Regions from separate parts of the Homo sapiens genome. Here all the other regions are linked to region 6. Evidence: promoter capture Hi-C in 16 types of primary human blood cells and fetal thymus (Javierre and others, 2016). All regions are on one chromosome and are shown on one strand. Each heading gives the region's core, a stretch centred on a gene start or on the middle of the fragment in contact. The rest is flanking DNA. Distances are from core to core; before and after follow the strand shown. Region 1 has its middle 32 kb from the start of FAS-AS1. Region 2 overlaps KIF20B (kinesin family member 20B). Region 3 overlaps KIF20B (kinesin family member 20B). Region 4 overlaps KIF20B (kinesin family member 20B). Region 5 overlaps STAMBPL1 (STAM binding protein like 1). Region 6 holds the start of IFIT5 (interferon induced protein with tetratricopeptide repeats 5).

Region 1 (3,576 bases), core at 263-2,762, 390 kb after region 6:
GTGTAGATATCTAAAAATTCACAAGAGTTACCTTTGAACAGTGGGATTGGGATTAATTTGCACTTTTTTTTTTTTTAAACAGATCTCACTCTGTTGCCCAGGCTGAAGTACAGTAGCATGATCTTGGCTCACTGCAATCTCCGCCTCCCAAGTTCAAGTGATTTTCCTGCCTTGGCCTCCTGAGTAGCTGGGATTACAGGCACGTGCCACCACGCCCAGATAATTTTTGTATTTTTAGTAGAGACGGGGTTTCACCATGGTGCCAGGCTGGTCTCGAACTCCTGACTTCAGGTGATGCACCCTCCTCGGCCTCCCAAAGTGCTGGGATTACAGGCATGAGCCACCACACCCGGCCTTTTGCACTTTCTTTTTAAAACTGTTTTGTATTGCTTGAATTTTCTAGCTGACTATGTACTGGCTTCATAATCAGGAGGAAAAACAATGATATACTTGCTGGGTTGTACTGCAGATTTAGAAACACACAGTTGTTTGCACCTCATGTTGTCTCAGGGATGAGTTAGATATCTTTTCGCTCATTAATTTGTATGATCATTTGTACAGCAAATTTTTCTTTGATGCCTAGACCTGTAAAATTAGTCAAACATAATCCTTACTCCCTTCCACTGCCTTTAGGATAATAAGCTCTATATATAATTAATTAGGATGAGAGTGATAATGATAATAATGTCTACCATTTTTGAGTAAGCCAGACACTGTTCTAGGTGCTTTTCAGAATTGTCTTTAATCCATACCACAAAAAATGAGGGAGGCATTGTTGGCCCTAATAAACAGATGTGGCCTACAGTGTCTTTAGCCTGAGACACCAGAGAAGGTTTCATAAAGAGGTGGCCTCCAACTAAGACTTGAAAGAGGGGTGGCATTTGACCTTCATGGATGGGAAGAAGGGAATTCCAGGTCAAAAGCTAAGAAAACATATAGAAGAGAGGCATTCATGAGGTCAAGTTATGAACCATTTAGTTTGTTAGAACTGCAGGGAAGGCTTCCAAAAGAGACAAGGTTATTGGGGGTAGATTGAGGAGGAGAAAGCTTTGAGTTCCAGATTTAGGAAACAAATCTGAAATCCTTATAATCCAGAGGTTAAGCTGCGCTCTTTAGACAGAGGGGTTTGGATGGTTGGTGGGAGGGTGCCACCCTGGAAAAGAAAGTCCATTTTGTTGCACTCACTTCAGTGTCTTTCGTTTAGGTGACTAGGACACATTGCTCCCACCAATGGCCCTTTCCCAAATTCCTTGCTGCAGCAGCATCCACAAGAATGGACAGAAAGCATACAATGAAGGGAAACTTTTACCTGTGGCTATTTCATTTGCCATGACCTTTGAATGAGCCTTCTTGTCACTTCCCTGCATTTTACTGCAGACTTGTGCTTTTTATTTATAAAGCAGATAGCCAGAAGAATCCTGCAGCTGGGGAAGTCAAGCCCAAAGCTCTGTGTGAAATCTGATGTGTATTTGAACATCATTAGCCCTTTGTGTGTTCTCCTCAATCTGCCAACTCTAGCATCAATGTCATACTATTCCTGTACTGGTGCTGGGCTGGGCCTGTGGAGCCCTGGGCATTACTGTAATTATAGGAAAGCTATATTTAGCGCTTATCACATGCCAGATACCATTCCATGGGCTCTAAGTGGAGTATCTCATTTAATCCTCAGAGCAGCACTACATGGCAGATACTATCATTTTCCCTCTTCTAGAAGTGAGAAAACTAAGGCCCAGAGGAGGTAAATAAGTTGCCCAAGGTGACAAGGTCCCAAATCTAGGAATGGCAGGGATTCAAATGCACAGTCTTCAGAGCTTACACTCCTACCCACTTCTTTATGCTTCCTTTTCTGCCTTCAAGGACCTTACAATGTATATGGGGTACAAGATCTGTACATGCAGACCACAGGTCAAGTAACATAGGAGTGCCTGATGGAACGAGGACAAGCACAGATGACCTCAGAGAGGACTCAAAGCTTTCAGAGAGTTGGTTACAGCCTACAGCCTCCTGCGGGAACTAGTGATTTCCCTGGGCCTGTGAAGAGGGGTGGAATTTGGGTAGATTTTTTTGAGAGAGAGGAGAGCACAAGGTGCAGACAGTGAAGAGCAAGATTTGGACTGGGAGTAATAGAGTCAGAAACAAGAATGGGGGAAGCATGGAAGGAGTAGCTGGATATGGCTGGAATGACACAGGGATGGGGGCAGGGAAACTCAAAGGAGCTTGGATACACGTGATAAATTAATGATACAATGTTTAAAAAAAAAAAAAAGTTCAGCTTCCCTAACACTCGCTGTGACTTTTCCATCAAATGCCAGTCATACAGAACACAAATGACTACTGCATACATAATGTTCCTTCATTAACTGATTCATTCAAGAAATGTTGACTGAACACCTACTCTGTGCTAATCATGATTTCTGCCCTCAGATGGCTTATGGCCTAGCAAAGGGGAGATAATTAAACATCTACAGAAGACAATTATATGTGAGTGCATATCAGAGGTGCATGGTTTAGATGGCATAAGGGTAAGAATTCCACAGGAGTGGCCTTTGGACACCCACAAGAGTGGAATTCCCCTTATACCAAAGCAAGATGGTGGTTTGGACAATATGCACGTGTTAAGGAGGAGAGGGGAGAAGCGAGGAAAGGAAAGGAAGATTGGATGTCTGGATAAATCTGCACTATATTTTGACACAGGGATGAGAGACCAGTGTTTTTCCAAGCTTTGTAAAATAGCTCTTTCAACTTTCTTTATTGATTTTTCTTTGCTTTCATCCATGGGCAAGAGATTTAAGCAATAGACGCCAATCTATACTGAAAATTAATGTCACCAACTAAGGTGTTCTTAATAAACAAAATTCACCATGCCCATTACCTTTTTCATGCAGAACGAGTTATCCCATGAGATACCCTAGTCCTTCTATACTTAGACATCTCAGCAGCCTGCTGTTTGCCATAGACACTATTGGACCCTGGATCATCAAGAGATCACCTGCTAACAAATGTGACACATGGCCTCCTCCATCTCTCTGCTTAAAGGTGTCTGTCCTCAGGATACCAAAGCTGGAGGGAAGAAGACAGGCCAGAAGTATTAGGGATATTAGGGAGTTAATGCCCTAGAAAGACCCCTCAACCAATGAAAGACTGGAGTTGGTGTCAAGACTCAGCTTCCCTGTGCCTTGTTGGTACAATGTGGAGGTTTGTCCTACATAGCCTTTCAGAGGGACCCCAGTAGAATTGGGCCCCACTTGTCTATAGCAATAGCATAGTTATCAGGGCCTGCACTATGGGCTTTTCCTTATTCCCTGTCTTACTTTACAACATCATCACCATGTTTCCTGGAATCACGTCTTAAATGAACCACCTGTACCCAAACCTTGCCTCAAGGCTTCTTTCAAAGAAATCCAATCAAAAACATTCTCCAGCAGCCATGACTTGACCTAGACTCAGTTGAGGTCATTTAAAAGGTGTAAAGATTCTTGAAGATCTCTTTACTTCATAAAAAAGTCCATGTGTCTGTTTTGGGGGTTCTGAAACAGTAAGGCCAATAACAATGAACTTCCTTTTGCCCTAGGATCT
Region 2 (3,439 bases), core at 920-3,419, 340 kb before region 6:
CAGTTTTTATCAAAATTCAGGTATGTGTGAATGTGTGTGGAAATGGAAAAGGTGACTCTAAAAATTATATGGAGATGCAAATCATCTAGAATACTCAAAATTATTTTGAAAATGAAGAACAAAATGACAGCAATTATCTATAATTTCAAGTTAGCACAATAATCAAGACAGCATGTAAAGACAGAGAAATCAATGGGACAGAAGAGACGATCTACAAATGCATGGTCAACTGACTTAAAAAAGTGGCAAAAAAATTAAATAAAAGGAAGGACAATCTTCCCAATAAATGGGGCTGGAACAACAGAATAACCAAATGAAAAAAAAAAAGAACCCCAACCCTAATCTTACAACACATACAAAATTAACCCGTGGGCAAATGATTTACGACAAAAGTGGCACAGCAGTGAGAAAGAAACAGTCTTTTCAATAAATATTTCCACATCAATTGGTAATTCACATTAAAACAAACATCAAGAGCTTTGACCACTATCTCACACCAACACAAAAATCAATTCTAGTATCTAAATATGAAAGATAAAAAACTTCAAAGCTTTCAGGAAATAATATAACACACCATCTTCAAGTCCTTGGGCTTCATAAAGAAAAATATTGGGACAATTATCTACAATAATACTAATAAAATTATCTACAATAATTGTAATATCTACCATATCTACAATAATAATTTATGAGAACTCCTACTCATAAAAAGGCAGTAAGAAAGAAAAAGCAAACTAGAGATAGAAAGAAGGTACTTGCAACACATTACAAAAAGGGCTTCTATCCCGAAAAGTATAAAGAATTCCTACAAATAAGAAGCTAGATAATCCAACAGAGAAACAGGTAAGGGAACTTGTATAGGCACAGCCAATAAACAAATGAAACAATCTTCAACTTCATCAGTAATTAGGGAAAAGCACATTAAAACCATTTTAAAAACTGACTGACAATACCATACCTTGGTGGGACTATACAGCTACTGCAACACTAGTTGGGGTATAAATGGGTACAACTGCTTCGAAAATCAGTGCAGCATTCTACTAGAATTTCACATATATATACCCTATCATCTAGCAATTGTCATGTGTGTATATATATATATATATATATATATATATACACACACACACACACACAACAGAGATATATGCAAATGTGCACCAAAACAAATGTATAAAAATGTTTATAGGAAAATTTATTCATAACAGCCAAAACCAGAAAACAATCCAAATATCTTCAACATTAAAATGAATTAGCAGTGGTTTATTCATACACTTAAATATTCTGAAATGAAAGTGGACTAACTCCAGATACATGCATGGAAACATGGATGATTCTCACAAACATAAAATAGTGAATGAAAAGAAGTCAGGTACAATCAAATGTATTCATATATTTCAATTTACATAAAACCCAAAAACAGACAAAACTGAAGTGTAACACTGAAGGACAGATTAGTTATTACCACTGGAAAAGAGGCAGAAGAAGGAGCTTCTGGGGTGGAACAGTGTTCTCTTCTTGAAATAGGTATTAGTTAAGTGGGTACTGGCTTCACAATAACTCACTGAACTATGTTCTATTTCCTTTCCATGTTATATGTTACAATTTTACATCAAAAATTAACATTACATCAAAAATGTGTTTCTTAAGTATGGCAGACACATACACAACCTAAGTATGATTATAAAGAAACATATGAGAGAAAAGAGTAAACTAGCTTTCCCTAGGATTAAAAATTCAAAGTGGGATTACTTGCTGGCATTGCTACCAGAGAAACCACTGGTTTGGAATTGGAGCAACTGTGACAGCCTTCTGTTTTGATTTTACTTATTGCCTCTTACTACTGGGTCAGGAAGGTTGGGTGATAGGTATACAGGAATTCTATGTGCTAGTTCTGTAACTTTTCTGTAAATAAAATGATTTCAAAAAATTTATTCTGTAAATAAAATGATTTCATGAAAAAGTAAACTTTTTTATGGGAGCAAATTTACACCATGTGACATGAGGACAGAGCATTCAATGGTAGACTCTCTAGCTTCAGAAAGGACACACACTTCAACCAAGGGCTTGATTTCTGGAGTAGAATACATGTATGGTCTGGAGTTTAGCAAGCATGCTGGAAAGTTTAGCTCACAACAGCCTCATTTTAATAAAAACTGGCCAACTCTGTTCAATATTCAATGTTAAAAGCAGCTTTAAAGCTAGGGAAGAAAAAAAGTGGAAAAACTGTCCTTACCTTATTGAAAATTAACATTTCAGGCCGGGTACAATGCACAGTGGCTCACACCCATAATCCCAACACTTGGGGGAAGCTGAGGCAGGAGGACTGCTTGAGACCAGGAGTTTGAGACCAGCCTGGGCAACACAGCAAGTCTCTGTCCCTACAAAAAATAAAAGATTTACCTAGGTGTGGTGGCATGTGCCTGTAGTCCCAGTTACTTGGGAGGCTGAGCTGGAAAGATTGCTTTTGCCCTGAAGTCTGAGGCGGCAGTGAGCCATGACTGCACCACTGCATTCCAGCCTGGGTGACAGAACAAGACCTTGTCTCTTTAAAAGAGGAAAGAAAAGGGAAAGGGAAAGGGAAGGGGAAGGGGATGGGCACGGGGAAGGGAAAGGAGAAAGGAAGGAAAGGAAGAAGGAGGACAGGATGAAGAAAAGGAAGAAGGAAAGGAAAAAGGAAAGGGGAGGGAGGGGAGGGGAGGGAAGGAAAGGGGGGAGGGAAGGAAAGGGGGGAGGGGAGGGAAGGAAAGGAGGGAGGGAGGGAGCAAGGAAGGAAGGAAGGAAAGAAGGAAGGAAATCTTTCAGTTTTTATAGGAAAGTTTAACTGTTTTTAGTCAAATGCAGTCATAAAAAAAGGAAATGCCAACAGATGACAATATGATACTGCGAAGTTACTATTTTTATAGACACTGGTTTTTCATTTTAAAATATTTGTTGCTCAATAGCTTTCCTCGGATTAACGATAACGTTTAGCTTCTTTTTTCTGATTGCCAACATGGCATGTCAGACTAAGTGCCAATTAGAAAAAAAGAACAGGCTAAGACAATCATTACAAGACCTACAGCTAGTAAATGTAAAACTGAAGGTCATTTCTACTATATATATAGTCTTTTACAAACTATTTAGGTGACTTTATGTGATAAAATGTACACAGTATTAGAATCTACAGTTCAAAATGCAGAAAGTTTTAAAATATAATAGGGAATACTCTGTAACGGTCAAAAGGAAGAGATTTTTTACTTCAGTATCTAGACAGTAAGAAGCAATAAGGTATTCTCCCAACATGCTAAATCAACTGAAACAAGTTAAAACAAGAACATTAGTGAATGTCAAGATAAATTGGCTCAGAAGTTATCTTATAAAGATGACAACCTGCCTTTAAAAAACCAAAAACAGAAAACCATGTAGAAACTGTTAATTCCAGCAATACATTTAACAC
Region 3 (3,568 bases), core at 894-3,393, 320 kb before region 6:
ATTTACAACAAACTTGCCCAGTTACTATTAAAGATTTTTTAAAAAATAATCTTCAACATGTATTATCTTTCATCAGACTGTCTCCTGGTATCACAAATACAGCTTGAATACATTTATTATTAATAATATTTAGCTCAAAGTCTTACTGTAAAATATCCTTTTCTCCAAATGAATAAAGAATGCAAACAAAGAAAACAAAATAATGTGCTGGGATTTAGGCAGAAAATACTATATTTATAAAATCAAAGTAATGAGTTTTAACTATTATAAGCACAGAAATTATTACATAGACTGCGAAAGAAATAATAAAAGCACAATTTCTAAAAGCATATTTATTAAGATAAAAGCTTTAACTATGCCCATCCCTAGAAAATGTATAACTTTCCAGAATAAAAATTCAAGACGTTTAGATTTTCTCAAGATTTTTCCTTAGACAAGTGAATGCCCCTCTGTTTGCCTTGTTCTATTTACTGGTTTAGAAATTAGCTTTCTTAAACGCCTGCTGCTGGCAGCTGAAGTAGTACCTTTCTTTGCTGGTGGTTCATCTTGCTGAAGTTCATTTTCATTTACTCTTTTTCTTTCTGAACAGATTTTAGATTTGCTGTCCTTAGGTACTTCAACTGTTTCATTACAAATCAATTTATTGTTTATTATTAAAGAAGATGTATCAGCCTTGTCCTAAAGCAAAATAAGTTAAAAATAATTCACATATAGAAAGCTACAAAAAATGTACAAATCACATAAATTACTTTCAATGGTGTACCATAAAAATTTTATTTTCAAATTTGTTGAGACATTTTCTAAGTTATTTCTTAAGTTTCGTCCTAAAATAACTGATGGCTCTAGCAAATAAGTAACATTTGGGGATAACTGGAGAATCTTAAGAAGATAAATCTCTGAAGTCACATCAGAAATGTGCTTTGAAAAGAAAAATATGAACTCAACTATTTATTTTGTTTTGTAGCCAAAGCCTCTTAAAGATTAGTATTGTCTTAAACATTAACAACTCCTAGAAAAATAGTTTTGCCCTTAGCTTTAAGTCGATATATATTCAAAGATATACAGCCTACAGACAGCTTTGAAACTGAGCTTCTAGATACGTCATTTAGACTTTTTTTTTTTTTAAGGCAGACTGCCTCCCTTGAAAAGGCTAGTAGCAACCAAGCACAGGGGCTCCTGCCTGTAATCCCAGCACTTTGGGAGGCTGAGGCCGGAGGATTACTCAAGCCCAGGAGTTTGAGACCAGCCTGGGCCACACAGTGAGAACCCGTCTCTACAAAAAATTAAAATTCCAGGTGTTGTGGTCCATGCCTGCAGTCCCAGCTACTCGGAAGGCTAAGGCAATGGGATCTCTTGAGCCCAGCAGTTCAAGGCTGCAGTGAGCCATGGTCACATCACTGCACTTCAGCCTGGGCAACAGAGTGATGAGACCCTACCTCTAAAAAGAAAGAAAGTGGGGGAGCTGAGAGAGGGGGGGAACTTCCAAAAAAAGGGTATAATATGGATTTAGAAGAAGGGTAAAACTCAGCATTTAAGCGCAAGTCTATAGAGTAATCAAATGTATGGTGAAGGCAGAAACTTGTAGCAATCAATTTGAAAAAACAAAGTGTATGATAGAGTGCCGCTTAATCAGCAAACATTGTATTAGCAGGAAATACAGATAAAAATAACCTTTTAAAGTCATAAAGTAATGGGTTATTTAAGAAAAAAGGCAAAGTTTTTCTAGTATCTCTAAACAAAGGATGTCATAAAGAACAATCTCCACGCTTTCTCACAATTAGTCCCTTAGTGTCACTGATAAATGACAAAATCATGGGACAGGCAGATCACACCTCTGACACAGCTCCATAACAAGTCCAAGTTGTTCCTTCCCCGATCCTTGGTACCTATCAGAATGATCCCGTCATTTTTCCCCGCTTCAAAATATACAATCCTCACCAAAAATCTATCCTTCAGAAGTTATAGTTATTGAAAGGAGGGTTTTCTGCTCCCAGGGTATGCTTGGGTAGAAAAAGCAAAGAATTCAAACTAAATTTTTTCATTATTGGAAAGAGTTTGCGCTCAAGACAAGATGTGGAACAGTGACCCTAGATCAACTGTTAATCAGGACAATTAGGTAAGTTCCAAACTACTTTGTATATTTGTATGTATTTAAGTGAACAATTTAAATTTAGCACACTGTATTAAGTTAGTTGATAAAACAAGATCTAGAATCTATAAAGTTTATTTACAAGCAAGGACTAACTAATTTACAAATATTGATTTTTTTACTATCACTTCCTTAAATATTGCTAATATATTATGGTATGCAAACACACTACAGCAATAAATATAATCCCATGTGAAATTTCCAACTATTTTCTTTGAAGTTGTAGTCACCAGAAATGACCTGTCTCTGACTTTCCTTTTTGTTTTTATTTACCAAATCAAAGAACAGACTTAAAATCCAGATCAAGAGATGAGAGCAAAAAGCATGTGATGACTAACCAAATAAAAGTTTCGAGAGCCAGGAGGCCCAGCAATTAATTTACTGCCCCAAGTCTCAAAATTTTAACATCCCCTTACTTCACAAATCAATTTCCTCTTCCTTAATCTCTACTACTACTACCGTAAATCGAAGTCCTCATCAACTATTAGCTGAACTCTTCCAAGAGGTAGCTATCTGGTCTCTCTGCCTGTAGTCTAATTCCATCTCAATCCTATCTTCCAAGTTTCCAAAAATATCTACTCAAATGAAAAACTCCTCTTTGCTATTCCTCTGGTGAAAATGACTCCCCCACTGACTCCCCAAACTCTTTAATGCAGTATTCAAGGTCTTTCATCTTATCCTATTCTACTACTCCTAGCCTCATTTCTCACCTCTCCTTGCTTCAAACTTTCTTCCTAAACAACAAATTGTTTGTATTTTCCTGCACTCACTGAAAGATTTCTCATTTCCATGACTTTGTGCACTCTGATTCTGGTACATGGAAGGCCAATGTACCTTCTTGTCTCTCCTGACTACCACTGTCCCCTTCCTCTACCTTCAAAAGGCTAAATTTTACTCACCCTTTAAGGCTCAACTTAATCATTTTCATCTCCACAAAGTATTCCTAACTCCCCACCCACTCACAGCTTCACACATTGACTACGACTGCACATTGTATTATAACTATATTTATGTTGTTTTTTTCTTATTGGGGGATTGTTAGGGTAGTAGATTTTATTAATCTGTATAATTCCAATAATCTAGCATAGTACCTGGCACACGTTGGACACTCCACAAGTGTTTCTTGCTCCTCCACCTTATTAAATACTAATTATTACTAAATAGTTTATTATTAACATATTAAATATTAGGATATTTCTCCCAGTTCAGGTACAGAAAAACCAGAGAATGAATCATGTATCTAATAAATACCAAAAGAAAGGCCTACTATAGGAGATTAGACAGAGTGCTCTTCTAGAATGCTCCTCATTTACCCCTGTGGTATCAAATGCCCATCTAAAGTTCAGATGAATCAGGGAATGTTGGTGGGTATTAGAGTTTGACTATCAAGATACAAAGGAAACTCAACAGTCACTTTTT
Region 4 (3,335 bases), core at 572-3,071, 360 kb before region 6:
AGATCTTTTCTAAATAATGTATATACATGTTTTGTGATCTGTACACACTTATTCTCCAAATCCTAGCTATAATCCAAACAGATATGTAAAATCAGTTGTATAACAGATAAAGTAAAAAAAATTCATAAGACATTGTTAAATATAAGTAAACCAAATACCTGACCTATTACATCCTGTATAGCAAAATAAATGAGAATAACAGCCTCTTTCCTAGGATCTTCACTGATCCAATGTCTGAGATAATAGGGAAATACAGTTTGAAAGAAGCTATTATAAAAAAGCCTTATAAAAATATACAAATTTTGACTCATTTATTGAATTAAAATTATACTATGTATAAAACAGCAATCTATATGCAGAGTGATTTAATGCATAATATATACATTTATATTTACAATACAGGATGCAAGTTCCAATGACTATGACTATAAAATTTATATTAAACATTTCCATAAGTGATTTATTTGGCTGTTTTTGTTCGAAGTCGTCGTTTGATAATCTGGTGATCACTCTCCTTCATTTTCTGGTCCATTAAAATCTGAAATTAAAAATTTCATAGTTTTTCAAAGCTTGTAAGTGAAAATAAAAATAAAAGCTTGTTTATAATGAGTAAGACATGTTCATGTGCTTAGTAACTGAAATGATACATTGGAGAATTTTTTTTACTTAGACTACAGATATGCCATCTTCTATAAAAATTTATTTAAAAAACAGACTTTGTAAAAGATTCAACACTATCAAATTCTAGAAGTAAAATAACCTAGACTCCATATTGAATTCAAGGCAGATATAACTTAAAATAATTACTAAAATATTTGGAGACAAGTGCCTCAAATAATTTTTAAGAAATGATCTTTCGTGGCAACAAATGTATAACTTAGAAAGTAGAAAGCACATTATATAGTAACTAAGAAAACAATTTTCAGCCAAGGGAAGAAATCAGGTACTAATCAAACAGATGCTCAAAAATGACTGACAGAATGGTACTTACAACACCATGCCCTAATTTACCCTAACTCTTTACATCTTGCATTCAAGTGTCAATCTCATATCTGAAAGCTCTTGTGGCAAAAAAGGTTTCTCCTGATTTTTCTTGGCCACTTCTTTTTAATTTTTTTAATTTCTTTTAATTATTTTTTTACCTTCACTTTCATCCACTAAGCAAATGCAAGCATGACAGAAAATTTGAGCTTTCCCTGTGACAGCACATACTGTTCTGAATCAGGAGAATGAATCATAGACTCAGGGTGATAACTACAGTCTCTTCCTAATAGATCCTCAAAGGCTTAGGGGAAAGGTGGGAGGAAATGGCTGAATGTCAGTTTTATATTTTTACCAGGAACACTTGGGCCCAGATTTGTACAACTCCCGTGATTTAAAAAAGAGAAAGAAAAAGAAAAAAAGATTGTGGAGGCAAATAAGTTACTAAATAGTGACAATTCTATTATTGGAAATAAATTCCTCTGATGCATTTTCAAATGCAAATGCATGACGCTTATATACATTTAATACAGTATTTATATTTAATTAGTATAAACTTAACACATGTGAGACTAAAAGCATGACCTTTATAGCATGTGTTTTCAGAGATCTAAAGAATTGAAATTCAAACCACTGTAAAAAATTAAAAAGAACACGAACAGTTCTACATTGATGAAAACAGAAATACTAGCTTACCACTTGGCCTGATATATCAATAGGAGATGAAATTTCACTTGTGTATAATTTCCGTTTGGCTCGTTTTGGTTGAGACACATTTTCTTTACTTGCTTCTACATTTGAGAGCTTTGAAGAGCTCATTGTTTCAATTATCTTCTTTGCTATAAAATAAAATTGTTAATTAGTTCCTGAAATAATTTTCTAATTGCAAAGGTGATTTGAAATCCTTAATAAAGATGGTTTGAAATCCTTAATAAAGAATGAACATACACAAACTAAAAACACTGCAATATATATATGGTGAAAGGGCATGAATAGACAAATCACAAAGAAAAAAAGTAAATGTCAAGAGAACATGAAATAATGATCGACAGCAAAAAAAAAGCAAATAAAGTATCATTTGATTAATGTTCAATGTAGTAAAAAACCTCAGGCATCTTTAATGACTTGGAAAATGTTTATGCTATGTTAAGCAAAAGAGCAGGATATATACATAGTGGATCATGCAGCATTAAAAATAAGGTGGTAGATGATCTAGTTCAATGCTCATGCATAAAGTTATGCACAATGAATGCTGCATGAAAATACTTTGTAAACCCTTTACTTCAAGTCCACACACAAATGGAGAGAAACCAAACTGTTAACAGCTGATTGCTTTTAGGGAAGTAGAATAGGAATTTTTAAATTCCTTACTATGTACATAGTACATAGTACTTTTTTTTAATAGAAAACATATTTCCATGTGGGAAAATTCCTGGATAGAAATTCACACACATGTGATATCAAATATTTTTTTTTAAATAGAAAAAACATTTAAGGCATTAGACTAAATTGAGAAGACTACTTGTTAAGGGCTGAGCTGGGCTTGAGAGAGCTGAGAGTCCAGGTATCGGAGAAGCCAGTTAAGACAACAAGCCAAAATGAAAGTAACAACCCAGCTTTTTAACCACTTATTTCAACAGTATATGCGAGAGACTAAACCTGAGAAAGCACCAGCTCCTACCCACCCTCTTCTATAGTCCACCACAGAATAATACAGATCAGCATAGAAGTGGTGGTCATTTTACCACCCAGGCAGCCCCAAACAAAAGGCTCTCGCAGTTTTATAGACCTCAGGGCTGGAGGTTGGAGGGAGCTATACGTGGAAAAGTACCGAGTTACAGTGGAGAAAAGCGTCTTCAAGGTTCCCCCTCCTGTTCCCCTCCATAAGAAGGCCTCCACCAAAGGCCTCAATAAAGAGGCTCTGAATGGAGGCACTCAGGCTAAATATGCAAATATGAGTAAGAGCATGACTAGCTTGGGGGATGCTGGATCCTTGACTATAACTCCCTTAAGAGATTATAATGCATTGGCTATGCATCAAGTCTGGTGTAGGAAGGGAAGCTTGTCAGGTAAGTCTTTGTAATTGCCTATGGTACAGCCTAAAAAAAATAGAAATGTTTAAAAATCATACATATGTTGGCCTAGAGCCAAACTCATCACTACTATGTGCTAGCCACTATACTAAGAGCTGACAGTATGAACTAGACAGACATTTTGTCCGTGCAGATTATATTCTAGTGTAAAAGATAATAAGAAAGCAAAGAATTACAGTTTAAAAAGTGCTAAGACAAAAAATAGGATTGAATAATAAAGATTAAGTGATGCTGGGGATGAGGGGTAGTGACAGGGTGATG
Region 5 (3,226 bases), core at 67-2,566, 490 kb after region 6:
ACTTCTGAAGTCTGATACCTGAGCTCTCCATAGCTAGAAGATTCCATGAAACAGAAACAAGCCACTGACTTGCCCATAGTAGGTGGTTCTGTATAAATGAGAACAGGAACAGAATTCAGGTGACATGATACCAGAATTGAGAACTAGACAAGCAGGGAGGGTTGATGCATTAGTCCATTCTCATGCTACTATAAAGAACTGACCAAGGCTGAGCAATTTCTAAAGGAAAGAGGTTTAATTGACTCACAGTTCTGCATTGCTGGGGAGGCCTCAAGAAACTTAAAATCATTGCGGAAAGGGAAGCAAAACACGTCCTTCTTCACATAATGGCAGGAAGAAGTGCTGAGCAAAAGGGAAAAAGCCCCCTATGAAACCATCAGATATCCTGAGAACTCACTCACTATCATGAGAACAGCATGGAGGTAACCACCCCAATGATTCAATTACCTCCCACCAGGTCCCTCCTACTATGATTTAAGATGAGATTTGGGTGGGGACACAGCCAAACCATATCAGATGTTAACCCATCCAAGCACAGAGTACAGGAAATACCACTCTGGAATATGGAAATCATTGAACTAAGCAGTGGAAGCTAGTACATGGAAACATGAGTTGTTTAGGCAACTCAGATACAATGTCATGAGGAAAGCAAAGGCAGGGAGAGCTGTGGCTGGCACAGAAGACATTGGGAAGACAGAAGGTTTCATAGGATTAGTTTGGCCCTGTTGAAAAGTTGTGGAGATCCAGGGAGAGATGGCTGGAGAAGGAAACTTAAACGTTGAAAAGAAAAAAGAAGAAAGCTAGACTAGAGTAATGTAAGGCCCTAAAGGATGAAAAGGGAGACTAAGAAGTGATCACAAGTTTCTCGATCAAGGAAAGGGCTGTCAGCCCAGGATTTCCCAATGTGCCTGGGAGCAATGTCTTCCAAGATAAAGATTTCACCTGCAGAACTAGTCTTCAGTGTCCCAAAGGACCTATTCTCAAATAACTCAACAATATCACTTCCATTCTGCCCTCTGTGTATCTGCAGCTAAGATTTCTCCACACTGTTTCCATCCTCAGGTTTTTCCTACCAATTCAACTTGCTAACAGAGTTAGCAAGTTGACTAAGAATTATCAGTTATTTCTTATGTCTCATTTCTTCTTCCTATCACCCCTGTTCATTTTCACAGTAACAGGTTTTGTACTTTTATCTGAGTCTTTTTTTAAAAAAAAAATCCTCTCTCAAGCTTCTCTACTTTTAGTCTTCTAAATCAAATTAATGAATTGTCTGCTATCCCAGGCCCTCTGACACCTGATCCCTGAATAGAAGTGTTGTTCTTGTATCTTACACAATGATTCACTGCAGAGATATCTCTCTGAGCCTGGGATTTCATGACACTGAAAACACAGAACAAGCTTTATCAATGGCAGCCATATTTCATCTACACATGGAAGCTGTTCACCTACCTCAGGGGAAGGTTTCAGAAACAGATGGTCTGCTTTGGAGACTATATACACTCAGAATTTCTTATTTGGAATTACATTTTACATGAATAAAAAATATAGCAAATCATCTAAAGCTCTAAAAATGTATGCAGAGACCTCTATAAATACAAGACATGTTGTTTGCAGCACAATTTATTATCTGGCCATAGTATTTGGGTACATTATCAGGTACCGATTTAACACCATGTAACCTCTCTTGACACAGAGCAACCCAAAAAGAAAACTTTAAAATGTGCAACAGCAATAAATATCAAGCTTTGTCATCTAAAATGTATAAATATAAAATATCAGTCATTTCTGGAAACATCTTAAGAAAATCCGGCAACCACATGTCCATGAGTAGGTGTCTGATGTTGACGGTGCTTACATTCAGAACATATCACCTCAGATCCAACACAATTATTTTTATGTCTTTTACCAACACATGTTTGCATATCTAGGAAAGAAAAAATTGGTTTTACCATATGTTTGATTTCACCATAATGTTTACCATATGATTTTCTTTAGGGAGGAAGTATAGATTTCCTAATTTTAATTTGTTCCTGATTTTTAAAATATTTCCAATCAGAACAAATACAATCACATTTATTCATTTTCAACAACAACAAAAATATTTACAGGGGTTGCCAAATAATTTTCATTTTAAGTAAATTCTAACGTCAATATAATGTTCTCTGATGTTATAGCCACAGAACCTCCAAGAAAATTAGGAAAAAAAAAGGCGTAGTCAAATGTTTCTTTTGGACTATGCAAAGGTAATCAAGAAGTATGATCATAGTTTCCATCAATTGCTATGAAAAAACTAATTTGGCCATATCAAGCAGAAAGAATTCATGCAACATTTTAAATGTCATTTTCTATGATAATTGTTTACTTATTTGGACTCTGAAGAAAACTTTTAAATATCATACATATACATAAGCGGAAAGGTAACTTTGTGCACCATTAATTCTGCTACAGAAATACTGATGTTTCCTTGTAAATACAATTATTTTGAGAATAAATCAGAAATTAAGTATACAGATAGATTAATTTTCTGAGATAAAACTCCAAACTAAGCAGTACAGTATTTTATCTTATATTAGACTGCTACTATTTATTTAAAAACAGATTGGGGGGGCAGTGAACAAGAAATACCTGGAAAAATAACTAATATGATGTACTCACACTGAACAGCCTGGGCTCCTTGGTGTGTGGATGAAAGCCCTTTTTTTTACAAGCAGAAACCTCAAGCATGCCAGCATTGGTGAGCCTGAAGATGCCAGTGCTAAATTTCAGAGCAAAAACAAGATAGAAAAATTAAGGATCATTTGGGCATTCCAGATGCTTTATTTGAACAGCACACACATACATATTCCTCAGATGGGATTGAGAAATCACAAACTAGGAATTCCATAGTGATTTTTTTTTTAAACCAATGACTGGTCCAGAGGAGAGAAACCCAGGAGGAGGCAATGCTGCTGCTAAGAGCCTGCAGGACCGTTAAGGGGACAAGGCAAATAAGCTATCGTGTGTGACCCCAGAGGAAAGGCCAAAGCCCCACTAGAGAGTCTCATGAGAGGAAATTACAAGTGGCAGATATTTCGAATCTTCTAATTATGTTAATACAGATTATAGCAATAGCAAATATGTATTGAGTACCTGCTGTGGTACCAGGCACTATGCTGAGCACTGTACATAAACTATTATCTAATTTCATCTTTACATCCATCCCCGATGGGCAGGTATCAGGGATGAA
Region 6 (3,560 bases), core at 395-2,894:
GTGGCTCACGCCTGTAATCCCAGCACTTTGGGAGGCTGAGGCGGGTGGACCACGAGGTCAGGAATTCGAGACCAGCCCGGTCAACATGGTGAAACCCGCGTCTCTACTAAAGATACAAAAAATTAGCCAGGCGTGGTGGCACACGCCTGTAATCCCAGCTACACGGGAAGCTGAGGCAGGGGAATGGCTTGAACCCGGGAGGCGGAGGTTGCAGTGAGCCGAGATGGAGCCATTACACTACAGCCTGGGTGACAGGGCGAGACTCCGTCTCAAAAATAAAGTTAGATGTGTGGGTGGCACTTAAACTTTTTTTTTAAACTTATAATGGGAATAATTAACATTTATTGTGCAAGTATTATGTGCTAAGCAGTCAACTGATAGGATTTATTACTGTCCTTTTCCACAGTCCCAAGAGATGGACACCATTAATTTTTACAAATAAGGAACAGACTCACAGAGTTTGAGAAACTTTGGGATCACTCAACTAGTAGGAGTTCAGTCCGGATTTAGAACAAGGGACTATCTGCTTTTAGAGCCCAAGACCTTAACATCTCATTCCTCAACTCATTAAATGCGGAAGGTTCACTAACCACGTGCAGGGCGGGGTGCTAGCCCCTGGGGATACAAAATGATCAAGAAAAGGACGCCATCATACTAAATCAGTAAAGGAAACAGATAAAGAAATCCTCATAAAACAGCGGATTGGGTGGGACGATAACAATCTGTGCTTGGTACAGAGGTAGCTCCTGGGAAGGGAAGAACTCAGACCCAGAAATCAGAAACGCAAACTGGCAGTGGCAGGCGAACCTGACGCCTGCAGGGCTGCGGCGAAACCGCGTATGCCACACCGAGGGAATGGCAGCTGGAAAGAGAGGCACGCGACAGGCCTAAGGAGACCCGTGGCACGTAGCAGCTGCCCCCGGAACAGCGCCTGGGGGCTCTGCAGGCGCTGACCAGTTTCCCGGAGGCGGCGGCCGCGGACCCAGCACGGTCACCGTCGCCGCTGCCGAGAAGAGCCGTCGGGTCGCGATGGGTGGACAGGCCTTCCGGGGGAGCGTCGCCCGGCACATACCCTGACAGTCCCGACCGCAGACGCCAGGGATGGGACAGGCTCCCGGGGAGCATCTCCTGTTCCTCCTCCCTGACCGGCCTTCTTAGGCGCTGGGGAGGGGCCGGACTCCCGAGAAGCGTCCACTCGGCCACCCTCCCCGGCAGGCCCGACTTCAGACGCCGCGCGCCGGGACAGAGCGCCCGGGGAGGGTCCCCAACGCAGATGCCCGGTTGCTGGGCGCGAGGGGCTCGGCCCCTGAAAAGGCCGCAGAACTGCGCTGGAAATGAATAAAAGCAGCCCGGTTTGAAACCAAGGCCGACGCAGGGCTTGGGAGGAGAGGCAAAGGAAAACCCTTACCTCATGATGGCAGCGCTCTGCAGGCCGTCCGGGCGGCGCAGTCCCTCGGATCGCTCTCTCCTCAGCACCGGGGACCGCGGGAAGCCGCGCGGTGGGCGTGCGCGTGCGCGTGCGCGCGCCAGGCCTCTGCAGCCCCTGGACTCGGCCGCGCGGCGTGTCTTTGTTAAAGGAGAGACCCCAGCCCCAGCAAGAACAGGAAACTGGAGATTGAATCAGATGCCGAGCGCTCAGAAACTGAAACTTAAGAAATCGAAACTAAACGTAAGCTTCAGAAACCGAAACTTAATAGAAGAGCTCAAGAGCCGCGGCCAGACGTTTGCGGAGTCCAGGGTCTTTCGGAGTTGAATTTGCAGCTGGGCTCCTTCACTTTGGTCTCGGCTTTTATCTGCCTCCCTGAGTACGCTGAGTTCGCATGCTGCCCGTGTAACTGTTTGTTTGTTTGTTTGTTTGTTTGAGATAGCGTCTCACTGTGTCACCCAGTCGTGATCTCAAGGGATGCGCCCGCCTCTGCCTCCCAAGGTGCTGGGATTACAGGCGGAAACTTAAGTCCCTGCTTCCACTCCAGTCTTTTGATTCAACAAGCAACACTGCAATGCTATACATCTATGCTGTTATTTCTGTTGGGTGTAAACTGAGAAATTTGGAGCTAAAATCTATATACATTTTAAGTTTTGACGGATATTGCCAAATAGCTTTAAAAATCCACTCTTACCCACAATTGTAGGAGACTGCTTCTCTTCCATACCTTCGCCAATGGTGCTTTGTAATAAGGACCCAATAAAGACAAGAGTGGTATTGGGGATCTAGGCAGAAAATGTCAAACACCCATACCTTAAACATTTTGTCCCCTTTGAATTCATTCAGCAAATATTGACAAACAACTGTAAGAGCCAGACTTTGTTCAAAGTACTGTCAATATAACAATAAAGAAAACAGACACGGGCCTTACCCTTATTGAGTTAATGTCTGTATTCAAAACCTCAATATCCTGTCCATAATTCATCTTTTGCATTGATTTTGGTTTTTTTTTTTTTTTTGAGACAGGGTCTCACTCTGTCACTCAGGTTGGAGTGCAGTGGTGAGATGACAGCTCACTGCAGCCTCAACCTTCATGGCTCAAGCGATCCTCCCACCTCAGCCTCCTGAGTGGCTGGGACTATATGCGTGCACCACTATGTCGGGCTAATTAATTTATTTTTTGTAGAGGCGGGGTTTTGCCATGTTGCCCAGGCTGGTCTCCAACACCTGGGCACAAATATTTTTCTAAACCTTAAATATTGTTCCGCCCATCGTGGCCTCCCAAAATGCTGGGATTACAGGCATGAGCCACTATGCTTGGCCTGATTTTGAATTTTTAAAAACATATTGCATTGAAATATTGTCTACCTTGATCACTGAGCTTCTGGCACCCCACCCCTCAAAACTTAGTGCCTGAAGCGAGTGCCTCATTTAAAGCAATCACTTCTAACAGTTGTACTGTCTTATACAGAAACTGCTGGTCACCTGTGGCTATTAAGAACCTGATTTTTAATTTAATATAAATTTAAAAACTGATAAGTTAATAGAAAACTTACATTTGGAATAACTTAGGTATACGAATCTGCTTTTTATAAGTTGCAAATTTTATGAACTCTAAATACAGAGCAAGTATTTCCAGTGATTATCCTCAGCAAACTAATGCAGGAACAGAAACCAAACACTGCATGTTCTCACTTGTAAGTGGGAGCTAAATGATGAGAACACACGGACACAGTGGGGAACAACACACACTGGGGCTTGTTGGAGTTGGGGGTGGTGGGAGGGAGAGCATCAAGAAGTATAGCTAAGTGATGCTGAGCTTAATACGTAGGTGATGGTGTGTCCGGAATTGGTTCCTTCCAGTAGGTTTTTGGTCTTGGTGACTTCAAGAATGAAGCTGCGGACTCTCGCTGTGAGTGCTACAGTTGTTAAAGATGGCGTGTCTGGAGTTTGTTCCTTTCGATGTTCAGATGTGTCTGGAGTTTCTTCCTTCTGGTGAGTTCGTGGTCTTGCTGACTTCAGGAGTGCAGCTGCAGACCTTCACAGTGAGTGTTACAGATCTTAAAGGTGGCGCGTCCGGAGTTGTTCGTTCCTCCCGGTGGGTTCGTGGTTTCACTGACTTCAGGAGTAAAGC

What was found. Contacts are between HindIII fragments. The CHiCAGO score rates a contact against its expected background, and 5 or more counts as called.
Region 1: a fragment that was not itself captured here is called in contact with the fragment with the promoter of IFIT5 in region 6 in 1 of 17 cell types (M0 macrophages); the score reaches 5.2 in M0 macrophages.
Region 2: a contact is called between a fragment that was not itself captured here and the fragment with the promoter of IFIT5 in region 6, in 1 of 17 cell types (megakaryocytes). The highest score is 5.8, in megakaryocytes.
Region 3: a fragment that was not itself captured here is called in contact with the fragment with the promoter of IFIT5 in region 6 in 1 of 17 cell types (megakaryocytes); the score reaches 5.2 in megakaryocytes.
Region 4: a fragment that was not itself captured here is called in contact with the fragment with the promoter of IFIT5 in region 6 in 1 of 17 cell types (erythroblasts); the score reaches 6.9 in erythroblasts.
Region 5: a contact is called between a fragment that was not itself captured here and the fragment with the promoter of IFIT5 in region 6, in 1 of 17 cell types (neutrophils). The highest score is 5.5, in neutrophils.

The regions. Positions count from the first base shown.
Region 1 is chr10:89,023,650-89,027,225 of GRCh38, reverse strand. No RefSeq gene overlaps it. Among named protein-coding and RNA genes, the nearest start is that of FAS-AS1, 32 kb to the right of the region's middle. The HindIII fragment of the contact is 925 bases long and covers 1,050-1,974 here.
Region 2 is chr10:89,754,721-89,758,159 of GRCh38, reverse strand. All of the region lies in intron 26 of KIF20B (kinesin family member 20B), which reads right to left. Among named protein-coding and RNA genes, the nearest start is that of KIF20B, 55 kb to the right of the region's middle. The HindIII fragment of the contact is 3,234 bases long and covers 553-3,439 here.
Region 3 is chr10:89,730,013-89,733,580 of GRCh38, reverse strand. KIF20B (kinesin family member 20B) reads right to left here. Exons shown (of 33, transcript NM_001284259.2): 19 at 525-678. Among named protein-coding and RNA genes, the nearest start is that of KIF20B, 30 kb to the right of the region's middle. The HindIII fragment of the contact is 3,587 bases long and covers 350-3,568 here.
Region 4 is chr10:89,771,174-89,774,508 of GRCh38, reverse strand. It overlaps KIF20B (kinesin family member 20B), which reads right to left. Exons shown (of 33, transcript NM_001284259.2): 32 at 1,678-1,820; 33 at 1-538. The coding sequence ends at 461. Among named protein-coding and RNA genes, the nearest start is that of LINC00865, 57 kb to the left of the region's middle. The HindIII fragment of the contact is 2,447 bases long and covers 598-3,044 here.
Region 5 is chr10:88,921,866-88,925,091 of GRCh38, reverse strand. It overlaps STAMBPL1 (STAM binding protein like 1), which reads right to left. Exons shown (of 11, transcript NM_020799.4): 10 at 2,656-2,755; 11 at 1,605-1,924. The coding sequence ends at 1,868. Among named protein-coding and RNA genes, the nearest start is that of ACTA2-AS1, 9.2 kb to the left of the region's middle. The HindIII fragment of the contact is 169 bases long and covers 1,232-1,400 here.
Region 6 is chr10:89,412,652-89,416,211 of GRCh38, reverse strand. IFIT5 (interferon induced protein with tetratricopeptide repeats 5) reads right to left here and starts at 1,644. Exons shown (of 2, transcript NM_012420.3): 1 at 1,409-1,644. The coding sequence starts at 1,413. It also overlaps a transcript of LIPA not described here. RefSeq lists enhancers at 598-667, 768-867, 1,478-1,787. The HindIII fragment of the contact is 3,334 bases long and covers 1-1,676 here.